Linked DNA regions of Homo sapiens: region 2 is linked to region 1. Evidence: promoter capture Hi-C in 16 types of primary human blood cells and fetal thymus (Javierre and others, 2016). All regions are on one chromosome and are shown on one strand. Each heading gives the region's core, a stretch centred on a gene start or on the middle of the fragment in contact. The rest is flanking DNA. Distances are from core to core; before and after follow the strand shown. Region 1 holds the start of KHK (ketohexokinase). Region 2 holds the start of MPV17 (mitochondrial inner membrane protein MPV17).

What was found. The method cuts DNA at HindIII sites, captures the fragments that hold promoters and counts their contacts. A CHiCAGO score of 5 or more calls a contact.
Region 2: a fragment that was not itself captured here is called in contact with the fragment with the promoter of KHK in region 1 in 14 of 17 cell types (naive B cells, naive CD4 T cells, naive CD8 T cells and 11 more); the score reaches 11.3 in naive B cells.

What each region holds. Positions count from the first base shown.
Region 1 is chr2:27,084,510-27,088,294 of GRCh38, reverse strand. KHK (ketohexokinase) reads right to left here and starts at 1,523. Exons shown (of 8, transcript NM_006488.3): 1 at 944-1,523. The coding sequence starts at 1,035. It overlaps EMILIN1 (elastin microfibril interfacer 1), which reads right to left. Exons shown (of 8, transcript NM_007046.4): 5 at 3,764-3,785; 6 at 3,287-3,304; 7 at 2,998-3,135; 8 at 1,892-2,617. The coding sequence ends at 2,280. RefSeq lists enhancers at 1,270-1,329, 2,320-2,539 and silencers at 1,520-1,979, 2,030-2,189. The HindIII fragment of the contact is 6,666 bases long and covers 330-3,785 here.
Region 2 is chr2:27,321,235-27,325,003 of GRCh38, reverse strand. It overlaps MPV17 (mitochondrial inner membrane protein MPV17), which reads left to right and starts at 1,907. Exons shown (of 8, transcript NM_002437.5): 1 at 1,907-1,952; 2 at 2,482-2,556. The coding sequence starts at 2,487. RefSeq lists enhancers at 1,098-2,070, 2,193-2,252, 2,303-2,352, 2,363-2,452, 2,463-2,512 and 2 more. The HindIII fragment of the contact is 4,230 bases long and covers 100-3,769 here.

The DNA.
Region 1 (3,785 bases), core at 274-2,773:
TCCCTTATACAAAATTTAAAATACAGCTGGGATGGTGACGTGCATGTGTGGTCCCAGCTACTCAGGAGGCTGAGGTGGGAGGATCACTTGAGTCTGGAGGTCAAGGCTGCAGTGAGCATGGTTGCACCACTGCACTCCAGCCTGGACGACAGAATGAGACCCTGTCTCAAAAAAAAAAAAAAAAAAAAAAAAAAAGAACCAACAACTGACTCTTCAGTTTCTAGCAGACAACTGAGAAAGATATTTCCCACTACTAAACGGTGTTCATTGACCTCTGTGAAAAGGACTTCTGGTAAACTCCTCTTGGAATTTAGCACCAGGAAAAAGCTTGCCAGGGCTCATGAACCAGCTCTATCCATACATAACCCATGGCATCTCATGTTTGCCTCCAGTGCCAGCAAGCCCTGAGCTATAGTTGAAGCTCAAATACCATGGTCTTAAATGTTCTCCAACAGTTTAACTGTACATACTTTTTACTGTAAGCTACCTCAAATCTTTCTCAGAAATAGGTGCGAGATATGTGGATAAATAAGTTAGAAGTAAATGTTGATGAGAGGCAAGTGCATAGGCTTGGGGTTTAAAAAGAAACAGCAGAAGCAGGTAGCTGTGTGCCCCTGGATAAGCCCCTTGGTCTCTGAATCTATACTTATCAGTAAAATGGGGATCCTGATGCCTGACACCTGACACCTGATGCCTGAGTTGAAATGGAAATTGGCTAACACGATGCTATTAAATCCTGGGTCTTCTTATTAAAGGCCTCAATTCCTTCCTCTCTTCTGTCATGCTGGGAGCCCCCCCAGGATTCCCGGGTAGAGGGCGCGGGTCCGGCCTTGAAGCCGGGTTCTCAGGGCCTCACTGCGGGGTCTCTGCAGCCTCGGTCGCTGGCACAAATGCTGGACTGCAGCAGCCCCTGGGGTCCCCTAGGGGACCTGGGCGCCCCTACCTTATCTCCGAGTCCTCCTTAGGGTACTTGTCCACCAGGCTGATGACGTCCAGCACCACTAGCCCCACGCACAGGATCTGCTTCTCTTCCATGAGGCTACTCCCAGAGCTTCCTGCCCGCCCGGCTGACGGGGTTCCTCCCGGCCTCTGCCTCTTATCCAGGAGGATGGTGTCCCCGCTCCCAGCTGCCCTGGCTCCTCCTCCGCGTGGGAGCTCCTCCTCCAGGGAGCCACCTGCAGCGGCCAGGGGTGCAGGGAACGAAAGGAGCAGGGCCCTTCCTCGCGACACCCGAAGACCCGAGCGGGTCTAGGAAAGCCAACCCAGAGGTCTTGGTCCCCGGTCTTCCCGTAGCAGGTTGCCTGGGCCTGCAGATGGCAACGCCTCCCACTTCTCAGCCTTAGTTTCCTCGCTTGTCAGATGGACTCACAGCTGATGCAAACCTTTTTAAAGCGCGGCTAAGCGATCTCGAGAATGCAAAGAGAAAATGCGCTACTTGCCCCGCACTCTCCTGCACCTGCGTCTCCGACTCCCGACCCGGGACACGCGAGGTACAGCTGGGCCTCGCATCTGCAGCCCTGCCTGAAGCCCGCGGTCGCGGCGGCCCCGCCCCGCCCCGCCCCGCCCCGCCCCGGTTAGTCCCAGCCGAGGCCACGCCTCCGCCGCGGAGGAGCAGGACCCGCCGGGTGGGCCGCAGCCTCACGTGGCGGGAACGCAGAGCGCCCCCTGGCGGACGCCGGCGAAACGGGCGTGACACGGGGGAGACGTCGCAGGAGCCGGGCGGGCGCCGCTTGCTGCCTGAGCCAACCCCGAGCCGCCCCGAGCCGGGCGGAGGCGGCGAACGCAGTGCGGAACCCGGGGTCCTCTCCGGAGGCCGTCGTCTCTCCCGCCCCGTGCCCTGTGCACGCCCGGCAGCCCCCGACCCCGTACCGTAGCAGAACGGTTCGTTTAGTTTTTTTTAGAAAAACCAAGTGTCTTTATTCCTCGATCGTTTAGTATGGCGGTGGGCGGCGCCCGCGCGGGGGAGCCTGGAGCCCAGGGAATCGACCTGGAGGGCCAGTGGAGGGAGCGGAGGGTGCGAGGATCGGCTCCTCCGCAGGCCGGCCCTGGAGGGGTTCTTGGGGGATCGCGCCAGGCCAAAAGTCTGCATGGGCGGCCCCGAGCCTCCCTGAGCCGGCGCGCCCCGGGCGTGGGGAGAGGCCGCTCTGGGCGCGGTGCCGCTGCGGGCCCGGGTGCGGCGCTCGCCCAGGGCTAGGTGCCCCGTCTCAGGCGAGACCCCAGGAGCCCGCCGCCCCCGCTGTCTCTTCAGCCGACGTAGACACGTCGGGCGGGACCCCAGTCTACGCGTGTTCAAGCTCTGGGTCCCCATAGAGCAGGGCCCCGCTGAAGATGGTGAGCGGCTCCTCCGAGTGCGCCAGCTGCCCCATGACCAGGTCGACGCAGACCGTGTCCCCGGCCTGCAGCGGCAGGATGAGGCTGAAGACGCCCAGGGTGCCCGGGCTGGGCTGGCTCTCGGCCACCGGCTTATTCTCCAGGCCCTCAGGCTCGTAGCCACCGGAGTCTACGCGGGCCACGCCCTGGTTGGAGCGGGACAGCACGGCCTCCACTTTCTCGTGCCGGTGCCCAGTCAGCACCGCGCTCAGCAAGTAGCGTCCAGCCAGTGGCGCTGTGAACACGCCTGGGGACAAGGATAGCAGTCAGGGGGGCCAGGGAAGCTCCGGGGAGCGCACCAGAACTCCTGGACTGAGGAGGGACCCTCTGGGTCTTTTCACCTCACTGGAATGTGAGCGGCAGGGAACTGGGGGCTTTGTTCACTATGCATTCCCAGCACTTAAAACAGTGCCTGGGCAGGAGCAGGCCCCAGTAAAGATCTGCTGAATGAATGAATGACTACTTCTTCTCCCCACTGCCTGAGAATGAATAAATGAAGAAAGAGCCGGGGTCTCCCCAAATCAGAGAATGAAGATTCACACTGTCGGAAAAGGCAAGAATGGGAAGATATCACTGCACACCTCACCCATTTCTCCAACCGTTCAACCCAGCCCCTCCCAGGACTACCTGTCTCTGGATCATAATAGCCTCCATCATTGAGCAGGACTCTGTCGAAGGGGACCGTGCCTGGTTCAGACCGGGGCAAACTCAGAGCAGCTGAAAATGCCACTTGGGGCACAGGGGCTGCTGGTGCCCCCTCCACTCCTGAGTGGGAAGGGTGGATGTTAAAGGGGATGCTCAGGGCAGAGTGCCAGCCCCCTTCCCCTGCTGGATCCCCAGCCCAGGGCTGCCCGAGGACCTCTATCCTCCAACCCCTAGTCACTTCTCCCTCCAGAATCAAATGAAAGGCACTCACCCTGTTCACCTTGAGGACCTGTGAGAAGAGGAAAGGGAGCAGTGAGAAATAAAGCAGCTCTCACTAAGTCACTCAGCAAACATCTGCTGAGGCTCTCCTGTTGTGCTCGGTGCTACGTGGACTTCAAAGCAGGAATTGGGGTATCAAGAAAAACAGGAATAGGTAGGGTCCATTCTGTTCAACTGCTGGGCCATCCCAGCCTTTCACACCCCAGACAGCTATAATAGACTCAGCTTTAGTCTCCAGTACTGCAGTGGGGCCAACATTATCCATTAGCCTCCTAATACCCATTAACCAAACACAGTGACTATCACAGTTCCTCCTCACTTTCCTCTGATTTTCCCTTATCGGTCAGGTAGTACCCAATTCCCCTTGTCAAGTTCAGAGTGGAATGTCAAGCCTGGGGCTGCCAGCGGGGGTCAGGGTTGGAGGGGGCAGTGGCAACCCTGACTGCAGCAAGGGTCTCAGTGCACATACCTGGTGGCCCGATGGGGCCCTC
Region 2 (3,769 bases), core at 965-3,464, 240 kb before region 1:
AGAAGCCAAGTGTTGCACTACCCTATTGGGATCCAGCTCACATTGAGCCAGTTTTGTTTTTTGAGCTGTTACGCAAGTGCCTTCTGTCGAAGAGAAGCTTTACTCAATTCTACAGGGCAGCCCCCTTCCTATTTTCAGTGGTAGAAAAGATGAGACCTGGGGATCCACACTTGAGGCTGTAGATTGGTGCTGGCAGCCCTGCTTCTGCAACTGAGTCTCAGCCCTAGTCTTGACCTTGTTCTTTTTCTCTAACAAGCCTTTTCTCTTTCTAACCCTCCCTCCCAATATACCCACTTCATACTATCCATTGTTCATACACTTCTCTACCTTTATTCCTCTTCTCATATTCCTCCCTTCGCCAGAGTGTCTTTTTCCACCATCTTCACCTGAGTTCAATTCATCCTTCAAGGTCCCGGCTCAAATTCCACCTTCACCAAAGAGCTTCCCAGTTTTCTCCAGTAAAAAATAGTTTCCCTCCCTTGTGTTCCCAAGGGGGAAGGGAGGAAAAAGGATAAACAAGCATTAAGCACTTGATCCATTTTAGGCACTTCGCATGTGTCACTTGTATGAGGTAGGTATTGCCATTTTACTTAATGATAAAAGAGTTGGAGAGGGTAAGCTGTCTGTAAAAGGTCAAGGTCATATAACTAGTAAGTGGTGGTGCTGGGGATTTGAACTCAGTCTAACTTCAGAATATAACTTTACAGCCTACCACATTTGGTCTCCTATTACATTTACTTTTGTCAGTTCACTCCTCTAGCATGCTGTTTTGCAAATAGCATTTTAGTTAAATGTTTGTGACATTGACTTCTCTTGCTTCCTTACTCTGTTTCTCCAGGATTTGTGGCAGGAGTCTCCCTGCCTTAATCATAAAGGAATTGAGTAAATTGGGGGTGGAGCTGGGCAGGTGGAGAGCCTGAAAGAGTGTGCCTCCTGACGTGTGGGCTCCCTGGAGATAAGTAAAGCCTGCCAGCCTGACAAGTCCATTGCCAGGGATATTGTAGACATTTCCAACGCTCTAGAAAGGATATTGCTCTATATTCACAGACTCTTAGAATGTTAGAGCTGGAAGGGGATTAAGAAATCACCTAGCTTACTGGTTTTCAAACATGCAGTTGTGGGCCCCGTTAAAAATGGGTCTTTTGAGAAGTATATACTTGGAAAAAAAAGTTGGAGAAGCAGCTGTAGTAATGCTGCCCCTCTCATCCCCACACACAAACATCTGAAAAATCCCTAGAACTGAGGAGCCGAGTTTGGAAAGTCAATAGTGTAACCTCCCTCATTTTACAGATGCAGAGCCTTAACATCAAGTCTAGTCATGACCAAGGCTGCACAGCCCGTTAGTTTGGGAGCCAATACCTAATGTCTTCTGAGGTTCTAATTCCAATGCTTTCTGTGGAAGAATCATACATACGCAGTATTTCTTAAGTGGCTGTTTGCGGCAAAGCACTGAAATAGTTGCTATGAGGACGACAAATATGAACGACCCCAGTTTTACCCACTCATGAGCTCACAGTTGAGGCCAGTGAAGAACCTAGAGACAAAACACGCACTTAACTATAACTTATAGTTCCCTAACTACGATTGCTGAGACAAGGATCGTAGTTATGGCCAGTTATGCGGGGAGGGTGGGCTGAACAATGAGACTACCGGATTGAGAGAGGCCCGGGTCTCGCGCGGAGAGAAGGGGCAGGAGGAGGCAGAGGGTCGAACTTAGGTGAGAAATATGGCTGGCGGGCCCCACACCAGGGTCCGGCACAGTCCAGCTGGAAAAGGGGTCTCTCACAGAGTGGGTGGCCGAGTTAGGCCGCTCTCCACGGGTATTCATGGCTCGGTCCACCCCCATTCCTGTCCTGGCTGCGTAATCCGAAGGACGCTGGGAGGAAGGGGCGGGACTTGTGGCGGAAGTTCCTAGGCCAGCCTGTCACGTGGGAGGGAGGCTCGGCGCTCAGGTGAGTGGCGGGTGATCTGCGGTCTCTGGCTTAAAGCGTCGCAAGCCATGAGTGCCCACAAGGTGTGTGGTCATCCTATATCCGGGCAGTGACGGGCCCTATTTTCGGTTTGGAGCTGGACTCAGGAAGGTTACAAACTGGTTCCAACCAAGTCTGAATCTGGAGACGGACCAAGCTATCTTTTGAGGCACCCAAGCTCTGGGTAGAAGCCAGAGCAAAGCTGTCCTCATGAGTGTCTCCGTCGGGAACGGAGGCTTCCAGGTGGTCTGGCTTCAGGAATGAGGTTGGGGTGGCTGGTGGCTGCTACCAGGAGTCCATAGCTTCCCACAGCCTTTCTCTCTTCCCCAATTGTCTAAGGCGACTCCTGCGACAGGAAGCTGTCTGGGAAGCATCCTTCATGTGGCCTCTGCCCCTTTAAGTCACATTGGAAGTGGGAAGGGGAAGGGAGTGGGCACAAGGGAATGTCAGGCGGCTTCTTAGTCGTGGAGAGGGACGGTGGGGGTGACCCCCTCTCCTCTTGGCTTGACAGGAAGCATGGCACTCTGGCGGGCATACCAGCGGGCCCTGGCCGCTCACCCGTGGAAAGTACAGGTCCTGACAGCTGGTGAGTGTCCCTCTAGGACTTGAGTGGGACCAGGGCAGACTGATTTGGAAGCCAGAGGCTTGCCCCACTGCACCACCCTCACTTCCTGTTTCTATTCGGCTCTCTTGAAGGGTTGGCTGTCTTTCATCCTACACTGTCCCCAGTCTGTTTTGGAGGGTGGTCCCCAAGGCTGTTTTTAAGGGGTATGCGTAGTTGGCCAAGCTGTGCAGTAGGGTTTTAGGATTTCAAAGTCCTCAAAAAGCTGAACAGTCAGCCCTGAAGGATAAAGGCATTGCCCCAGGAGGCCTCAACTTGGAAAACATTTTACCGTATGCAAAGCACTTTCATATACGTTATGGCATAGGGCCCCCACAAAGGTGTGTGAGCTAGGAGGGTTACTTGAGTCCACATTAGATCACACCTAATAAGTGCTGAATCAAGACTCTTACCCCAGTTTTTCTTGGTATTTTTTATTGTGAAACATACAAAAGAATGATTAAGATGTGTATGTACAGTTTAAATGGCATTAAAACTGAACACTCCTGTGTCAGTAATCAGCTTTGAGACCTCTTGAGTGCCTCTCCGTAATTCACCCAAAATTTCCTGAGTTTTGTTTATATCGTTCATTTGCTTTTGTTATCATTTACTGCCTAAATATGTATCTCCAAGGTTAGTATATTGGTATCTGATCACTCCATCCTGATCCATTTGGAGTGATCAGATACCAGTCACTCCAAATGCAGTGATTGAGTACTAACCTCACAGAGGTAATGCAGTGACCTACCTGCATTTGTTACCATCTTCATTTTGCAAGTTAGCTAATGTAAGAGGATGGCATGAAGATAAGTAAGTCTTAGAGGGGGAATGTCAGAAGGCCTTAGAACATTGGGGTGCAAAGAGTGATCACATTAAGATGAGGTCTTGCCCATGTTTAGAGAAGGGGAACAGGATTCTAGTGATGACTGGCCTTCTGAGAAGAGGACTATTGGAAGGGATTGGGGGCTACTGAAGGCCAGAGTGGAACAGGGATCCTGTGACCAGAACAGCCCTGCATCGGCACAGAAACTTAACTGCATGAATGGCCAGGAGATGGATTCTTTGGCCCTTCCCTGGGCCCCTCTCCAGTCTCCGGTGCCCAACCACCTCTTGTCCTGTCCTCAGCGTCCGTCAGCCTGTATGACTCACCTGGCTACGTGTGTGGTGACTCATGCTGGACAGTGTGGCTATGATGGGA